2 separate regions of the Homo sapiens genome follow, and region 1 is linked to region 2. The links are contacts of gene promoters, found by promoter capture Hi-C in blood cells and fetal thymus (Javierre and others, 2016). All regions are on one chromosome and are shown on one strand. The core of a region is centred on a gene start or on the middle of the fragment in contact, and the rest is flanking DNA. Distances in the headings are between cores, read along the strand shown. Region 1 has its middle 88 kb from the start of ABRA. Region 2 holds the start of OXR1 (oxidation resistance 1).

What was found. Contacts are between HindIII fragments. The CHiCAGO score rates a contact against its expected background, and 5 or more counts as called.
Region 1: a contact is called between a fragment that was not itself captured here and the fragment with the promoter of OXR1 in region 2, in 1 of 17 cell types (naive CD4 T cells). The highest score is 5.6, in naive CD4 T cells.

What each region holds. Positions count from the first base shown.
Region 1 is chr8:106,856,602-106,860,208 of GRCh38, reverse strand. No RefSeq gene overlaps it. Among named protein-coding and RNA genes, the nearest start is that of ABRA, 88 kb to the right of the region's middle. The HindIII fragment of the contact is 332 bases long and covers 1,101-1,432 here.
Region 2 is chr8:106,268,280-106,271,796 of GRCh38, reverse strand. OXR1 (oxidation resistance 1) reads right to left here and starts at 1,607. Exons shown (of 17, transcript NM_001198533.2): 1 at 1,430-1,607. RefSeq lists silencers at 1,253-1,612, 1,633-1,882. The HindIII fragment of the contact is 2,469 bases long and covers 1-2,060 here.

The DNA.
Region 1 (3,607 bases), core at 17-2,516, 590 kb before region 2:
AGCATGTTTTTCTTTTATTTATAAAATATGGCTTTTTTAGGCATATATTTTATATATTTTTCTTTGGACATGTTTTTATGTTTTAACTACTTTTGTATTTGTTTACAGTAAGAACTTAGGCTTGCATCTATATGTTACTATTTTCAGTATTTAATATCCATCTTTTTATTATCTTATTTGTCCTTTTTTATTTTATTATGTCTTATTCCAAAGTATATTTAAATTAATTTTTTAAAAGTAGATAGGTGGTATATTTGAATTTTTTACTTTATGAGACTTTCTTTTTTATTTTATATTTCATATACTTACATTTTCACATTTCACATATACGTTGGATAAAGAGCAAAAAACTGGGTCACAAATTTTTCCCAAGAATGGATAATGGGTTGTGCCTTTAGAGTCTAATGCTAATGTTTTCTTTTTCTTTTTCTTTTAAATAGAGACAGAATCTCACTATGTAGGCCAGGCTGGTCCTGAACTCCTGGCCTCGAGCAATCTTCCCATCTCAGCCTCCAAAAGTGTTGGGATTACAGGCATGAGCCACCACATCTGGCCTAACTCTAATGTAAAGTGTGGGCCGGGCCCGGTGGCTCACGCCTGTACTCCCAGCACTTTGGGAGGCCGAGGTGGGTGGATCACTTGATGTCAGGAGTTTGAGTTCGACCAGCCTGGCCAACATGGAGAAACTCCATCTCTACTAAAAATACAAAAAATTAGCAGGGTGTGGTGGCAGATGCCTGTAATCCCAGCTACTTGGGAGGCTGAGGCAAGAGAATCGCTTGAACCCGGGAGGCGGAGGTTGCAGTGAGCCGAGGTTGCGCCATTGCACTCCAGCCTGGGCAACAAGAGTGAAACTCCACCTCAAAAACATAAATAAATAAATAAAAATGTGAGACCAGTTTCATTTCCGTTCATTTGTAACTACTCTGGTATGCTTCTGTGTTGTTTTTTTTTTTTTCTGCCTGGGTACTTAAAGAGAGTGCTGTCTCTGAAATTTAGCAATTCATCAGGGTATGACTAAGGGTTGTTTTAATCCATTTTACTTGTTATTTGATGAGCCTATTTTATCTATAAATGGTGTTTCTTAGGTCAGTAAAGCTTTATGTTCTCATGTGTTTTATTTTATTTATTTATTTTGAGATGGAGTCTCACTCTGTTTCCTAGGCAGGAATGCAGTGGCACGATCTTGGTTTACTACAACCTCTGCCTTCCAGGTTCAAGTGATTTGATTCTGAGGTTATTTTTAATATTTATTATGTCCTTCATTGCTTCTATTGAAACTATAAGTCATGCTACATCATTTACGGTTTTGTATATGATTTTTATTGTTTTTACCTCCACAAAAGCCACTCCTTTTTTATATTTTCTTGTCTTATATGTATATGCTAAGCATCTTCTTATAGAAGTTTTCTGTGTTTTACACAGAAAAGCTTATAAACTTTGCTTTAGTATTTTTCAGAATTTTCCTCTACAATTTGAAAAAAAAGTTCTCATTCTTTACACTGTACAATCTTTCTTAAGTACAATATTTATTTTATCTGATTTCTTATCTTTAAATGAGGAACACTCTATTCAGGTCAACTGTTTCAAAAAAAAAAAAAAAAAAAAAACGACAGCATGAGAACATTCTGCTTGAGATTCTGAACTTGGCATTCAAGTTGACGTCTGGAGCATGTTAGAGCATTCCAAAGCCAATGAAGCCTATAAAATGTTCCTCCCACCCCAACCCCAAGAGGAGTTCACCAGCAGAAGGCATCTTGATACACCAGAGGATAAAGGTTCTGCCCACGGATTCCGGGGCCCGACTGCCCAGGCTCAAATCCTGGCTCCACCCCTCTTAGGAGTATTGTTACCTAGATGCCTGCTTTGGAGAAGGCCCTCTGGGGCTGTGGTGAAGGAAGTATTTCATAAGCTTTAATGGTCTCATCTCTACAATAGGGATAATGACAGTTTTTTCCTCGTAGGGCTGAGAGCATAAAATAAATTTATCTATGAGCATAAAATAAATAAATCTGCAAGAATGCCTGGCACGTAGTGATGTTATACAGCATGGTGGCTGTTTTAAGGAAACTTTAGCTTTGAAGGAGATTGTGAGATTGGCAGCCTTAGCATTTGTACAGATCTATGCCCTGTCAAATAGGAACTGAAACAACTAGAGCAATAAATACCACCTGGTGCGCAGATGATCCACTCCACACTGAGGAAACTGCCTCCACAGCGCTGTTTCGTCTTTGGTTGTGTGCTACCCGTGACGTCATGTTCTAACAATTCTGTAAATCCCAGGGTGTATATTCGCACCCATTAAAATCCTCCCATGGAAAATGGGTGAGTAATGATGTAAGTATCCTTACTATCTGGCTGGCAGTGAGCAACAATGAAATGAAAAGACAGCTGTGTGTTTGGAATTTGAGACCTCTGGAAGGATAGAGAGCTGTACCGAAAAGGCAAATGAGATAGAAGATGGAGAGGCACAGGGCTGTGGGCCAAGCAACAGAACAGACTTGAAGTGAACTGATTGTTCCAGAGAAACAGACCTATGATGTTTCAAAGGACTCAGTAAAGAGAACACAGGTTGCAAAAGAATAAAAATGCTAAGGAGTCAACCGTCCCATGAAGGACATTAAAGGACAGGGCAGAGGCGCTGCCTCACTCCGCATTCACACAGACAGCATCTACTGTGTGCGGAACACCACAGAGGCCCAAAGCATCACCAGATATAATCGATCGCTTGCATGGTGGGGCACACCTGTAATCCCAGCTTTTTGGTAGGCTGAAGCAGGAGGATCTCTTGAGTCCAGGAGTTCAAGTCCAGCCTGAGCAACACAGCAAAAACTGTTTCTTAAATTCAAAAACAAAAACAAACAAAAAAATCAACAGTGAATGTAGAGAAAGGGATTCTCTGCCCCTCTACATATAAAAAAGATTCTGGAAGGGAATAAAATTAAGAGTGGTACAGGTTTGTGTTGATACAGAAGGAGTAGGAAGAGGTGGGAAATGGTTATGCTCACATTTATTTGGCCACAAACCTGGCCCACCCCATTCTGCTCCTGTGATGTTTATACAAAGTAAAAATGCCAAAGGTGAAGCACTTATGTACTTTATACATATGTGCTTCTCTACCTGATCTTCTCTCACTGTTTATTATCAACAGCCTTTTTTGTTTCAAACCTAACCATTATAGATTTTAATGATTTATAGATTTTTTAAAAACTAAACAAACTACCTAAATAAAATATATTTTGACCCATAGATATTAAAGAAGTTAAGAAAACATCATAGATTCTGTATGTTCCTCCAATCTAACCAGATCAAGTATAGTTTTCTGGTAATTTTGTTTGAAATTGCTTCAATAATTTACATATTTAGGTAAAAACTCACTTTGATCTTAACCATCTAAATAATTCATGTCCATTTTTAAAACCACAATATTTCCTCCTTGGTTCAATACACACGGCTTTGCTATTACCTTGAGCAGTCATGGTTTAGATCGAATCTGATGCAATTCTGACTATGTCCTCAAGATGGCAGGCGGGGATTTAGACTGAGCTTCAGGGTTCTAGCAAAGCCTTTTTACAGCTTTTTTTCTCTGAGTTAGGTCTCCTGTTAC
Region 2 (3,517 bases), core at 358-2,857:
CCGAATCAGAGAAGACCCGCATCAGGTTTGGGATGTAAGTGGAGAGGGAGAGGTTAGAAAGAGGCATCATTGGATAAGCAAAGAATGCTACCCTGGGAAAAGGAGGCAGAAAAGACGTAGGGAAGTATGTTCCCCTTAATCCCTTCCCCGTGCCGCCCGTAGATCCCTGGATCTTCTTGTCACGGAGACAGGCTGCAGCCACACACGCGACCCCGGGCCGGAAACATGCACACGCGCGCGCACACACGCACACACACGCCCCGCTGCGAGTTGCACGCTGCAGACTTCTGCCTGACTTCCCGGCCAAAAACACCGCACCTCTGGGGCCAGACCACGAATTCCTGTGGCCTAGAACTGACACCACTCCCCCTACCCCCGCAATACACACATTCAGACCCTACACTGCACCCTGAGCGTGCCGGGAACCACTGAACGGAAGCCCGAGCAGCTCCCCCCGTAAACGACTACCTTCCCCACTGCCTAATGTCTATTTAAATCTCCTAAAGCTCGCCTACAGCGAGCCGAGGTGCGTCCAAGCCGGGTAGTAGACGGAGGAGGAGCCAGGGGTGAAAGTGAACCTCAGATAACAGTACTAAATCACTATTCAAGGGGCGGCACGGGGAAGCCTCCAACCCTCTCCTGAACCTTTCAGGCCCTACCAGCAGCCCAGTTCCTCCGCCCGATACTGCACAGCTCCCCCCCTCTTCACCCAAATCCCTCAGCGATTTTCCAGTCGGCCCTCCAGGCCACTTTCTACATCCATCCTTTCCCCAGCCAGTTCCCAACATGTGGCCTCGGGTACTCTAGCGGGAGACAGATTCCAGGCTGACTCCATCATGATGTGCCCCCTAGCCTTTTACTGATTCCCCAAATTATCCGAATCCACTCGCCCCTCCGGAGCCCACTGTCCCTTCCACCGGCGTCCTTTGCTCTCGTCCAAATCCGCTTTCCACGCGCCCCACTTTCCACCCATCCTCCTGCCGTTCTGTTCAAGACACGCTTGCCCTCCACTCTGCGCCCCCAACACTGCTCTCACGCTGCTCCCACTCTATCCCCCGGCGACACCCCCACTTTCCTTCTGCGGCTGTCCCTGGCCGGGCTCCCGCGCCCCAAACCCAGCCTCCCCGCCCGGTCTCCTCCCTCGCCGCCCGGTCTCCTCCCTCGCCGCGCGGTCTTTCCTTCTTCCCAAGTCCGCCCTCTGGGCCCCCGCTGGAGCTAGTTCTGCCCTCCTGCTCTGCCCGTCGTCCCCGCTCGAGCATCCCAATGGCCACCCGCTTTCAAATTGGCTAAGTGGCTCGGAGAGGCGCCAGGCACAGGGGGCAGAGGCCAGCCGGCTCTCCCGGGCGCCAGCCGCGCCTCTCGCTATCCCTCCTGGACTCCCCCGGGCGCCAAGCCCTCGCCCTAACGCCCAGCAGCCTCACAAACTTACTTGCGGGTCGCCAGGAGGGGGCTGCGGTGAGCGGCGGCGGGCCCCGCGGCGGCGAGTGCGCCCCTCTCGGCGGGGCTGGGCGGCGCGGCGCCGGCGCTGAGCTCCTGTGGCCGCGAGGTGAATGGGCTCAGCCTGACGCAGCCCAGCTCTAGCCCCGCTGCTGCCGGCGCCGCTGAGCGCTTGCAGACATGCTCAGTTTCCGGACCTGCCCGCGTGGAAGCTACCAAGAGCCGGCAGCGGCGGGGGAGACTGAGAGGAGCCGTGGGGCGCCGCGAGCCGGAGGCTACCACGCCGGGGGCGGGGGGAGGCACGCACCGCTAAAAATAGCTCCTGCGGAAGCCACGCTGGCTTAGCGCGCACCCCTCCCCGCGCGCGGCCCCTCTGGCTGGGGTTCGGGTTTCTGCTCTGGCTACCGCGGTGGGGACCCCAGCTCGCCGAGTCCTGCCAGGCGTCTGCCTGCACTAGGATCCCCATCCCGGTGGAGACGGCGCCTCCAGTTCAGGCGCCCACTCGAATAGCCTGGACTAAGCCAGAGCTGCCCCGATTTCGGGGTCCCGCCTGTCGGGCAGCTCTAATACTAGGCTCTCCCTAGAGAAGCAGAGGAAAGTTTTGTTAAAGCGATAAAAAAGCTTCTGCAAGGAAAGCTGCAAGGAAATTTGTTCAGATTTACGGAGGAAAAAAATGTTCTTCAGATGCTTTGGTTGCTGGGAAAAACAAGGAGGAAAGGAAGGCGAAGTCTGACAGCCTAGAAAGGGACCCAAGGCAGCTTGGAGCGGGCTGAAGGGGGTTCTGCAAAGAGCTTCTAAAATTCAGAATTCTTTGCAAGGCGTTTGTGACTCCTCATTCCGCAGTGTTTTGCATAATTCGTTGACACCCCACCCTGACCTTGGAGATTTTCTTGTTCCTGTCACCTGAACTGTAATTTACTTTCTCCGCATGCTGCCTTCACTCCTTCCCCCTCCAACCCGGTTTTAAATTGCAAAACGAAAAGGGCGCAAACTCTGGATGGGTAGATTCCCAGACCTGAACTGGAACCTGGCTGTTCTGTAACCCTGAGGAAAGGAGCTGGTCCTGTTGCCGAGTTCGGGATGTATCCCAGATCTCCTGTGCATCCAGCAAACACTTCAAGCGTAGGAGCCTTTCAGCCACCTCACCTGCAAATTAGCTATTTCCCGCTATTAGTGTTCACTCTATTCTACCTTAATTTCTGATCATTTATTATTATTTTTTAATTCTGTTCTTTAAAGTAAGAGGTACAGATATTTCCTGGGTCAAATTTCCGTCTTGTTTCACTCACCTCTCACAGCCACCCAATGAGAGAATCATTATTATTCCCATTTGACAGACAGGGATGTTGAAATTTAGCGACAGGAGCTCATCGCTTGTCTGGAATAATAGAGTGTTGAACCTAGGGTCGGCCAGACTAGAAACTTTCATGGTTTCCGCATAACCTATTTCCCCGAGTCAATAGCTTTACCTGAGATAAGGGATCAAGAAAATTAGATACTATTCTGAGTGGCGTGGCGTGTCAACAGTAAGCCGATTGATAAGCCGATTGCGGGTTTTGTTCTCCATTATTTTTACCTAATTTCTTTACGAGCATTCGCAGCTTAAATTTTCTGTTATGTTGAAACTGATAGCGTTTAATTTTTATTCTATCAGAAAGATTTTACTGAGAATCTTCTACAAGCAATGTATAGACTAGGTATGTATTTTATAATTATCTCAGTTCAGACTCTGTGATAAAGCTACTTTGTTTTCCCAGTATTATAAATTAGTTAGACTTTGCTAACCCTACTAAGTAATGTACATGTGATTTTTTCATAGAACTGTAGTGGAATCTGTCTATTTGGGTCAAGATGTCCTCCCTCCTAAGATATTTGCGCCCTTCCATCCCCACTTGCAATTTAGTGCCATGTGCACCCCAAAATAAGTAATCAATTAAGGTTTGATCTTTTACTTTTTTACTGAAGCTGCAAATATTATCTGCAGGACCAGGGCCACTTTATAATGACAACATCATGTTTCTAATTTTCCATAGGTGATTCATTGGGAGATCAAAATGTGAATTTCCTTAGACTATCAACA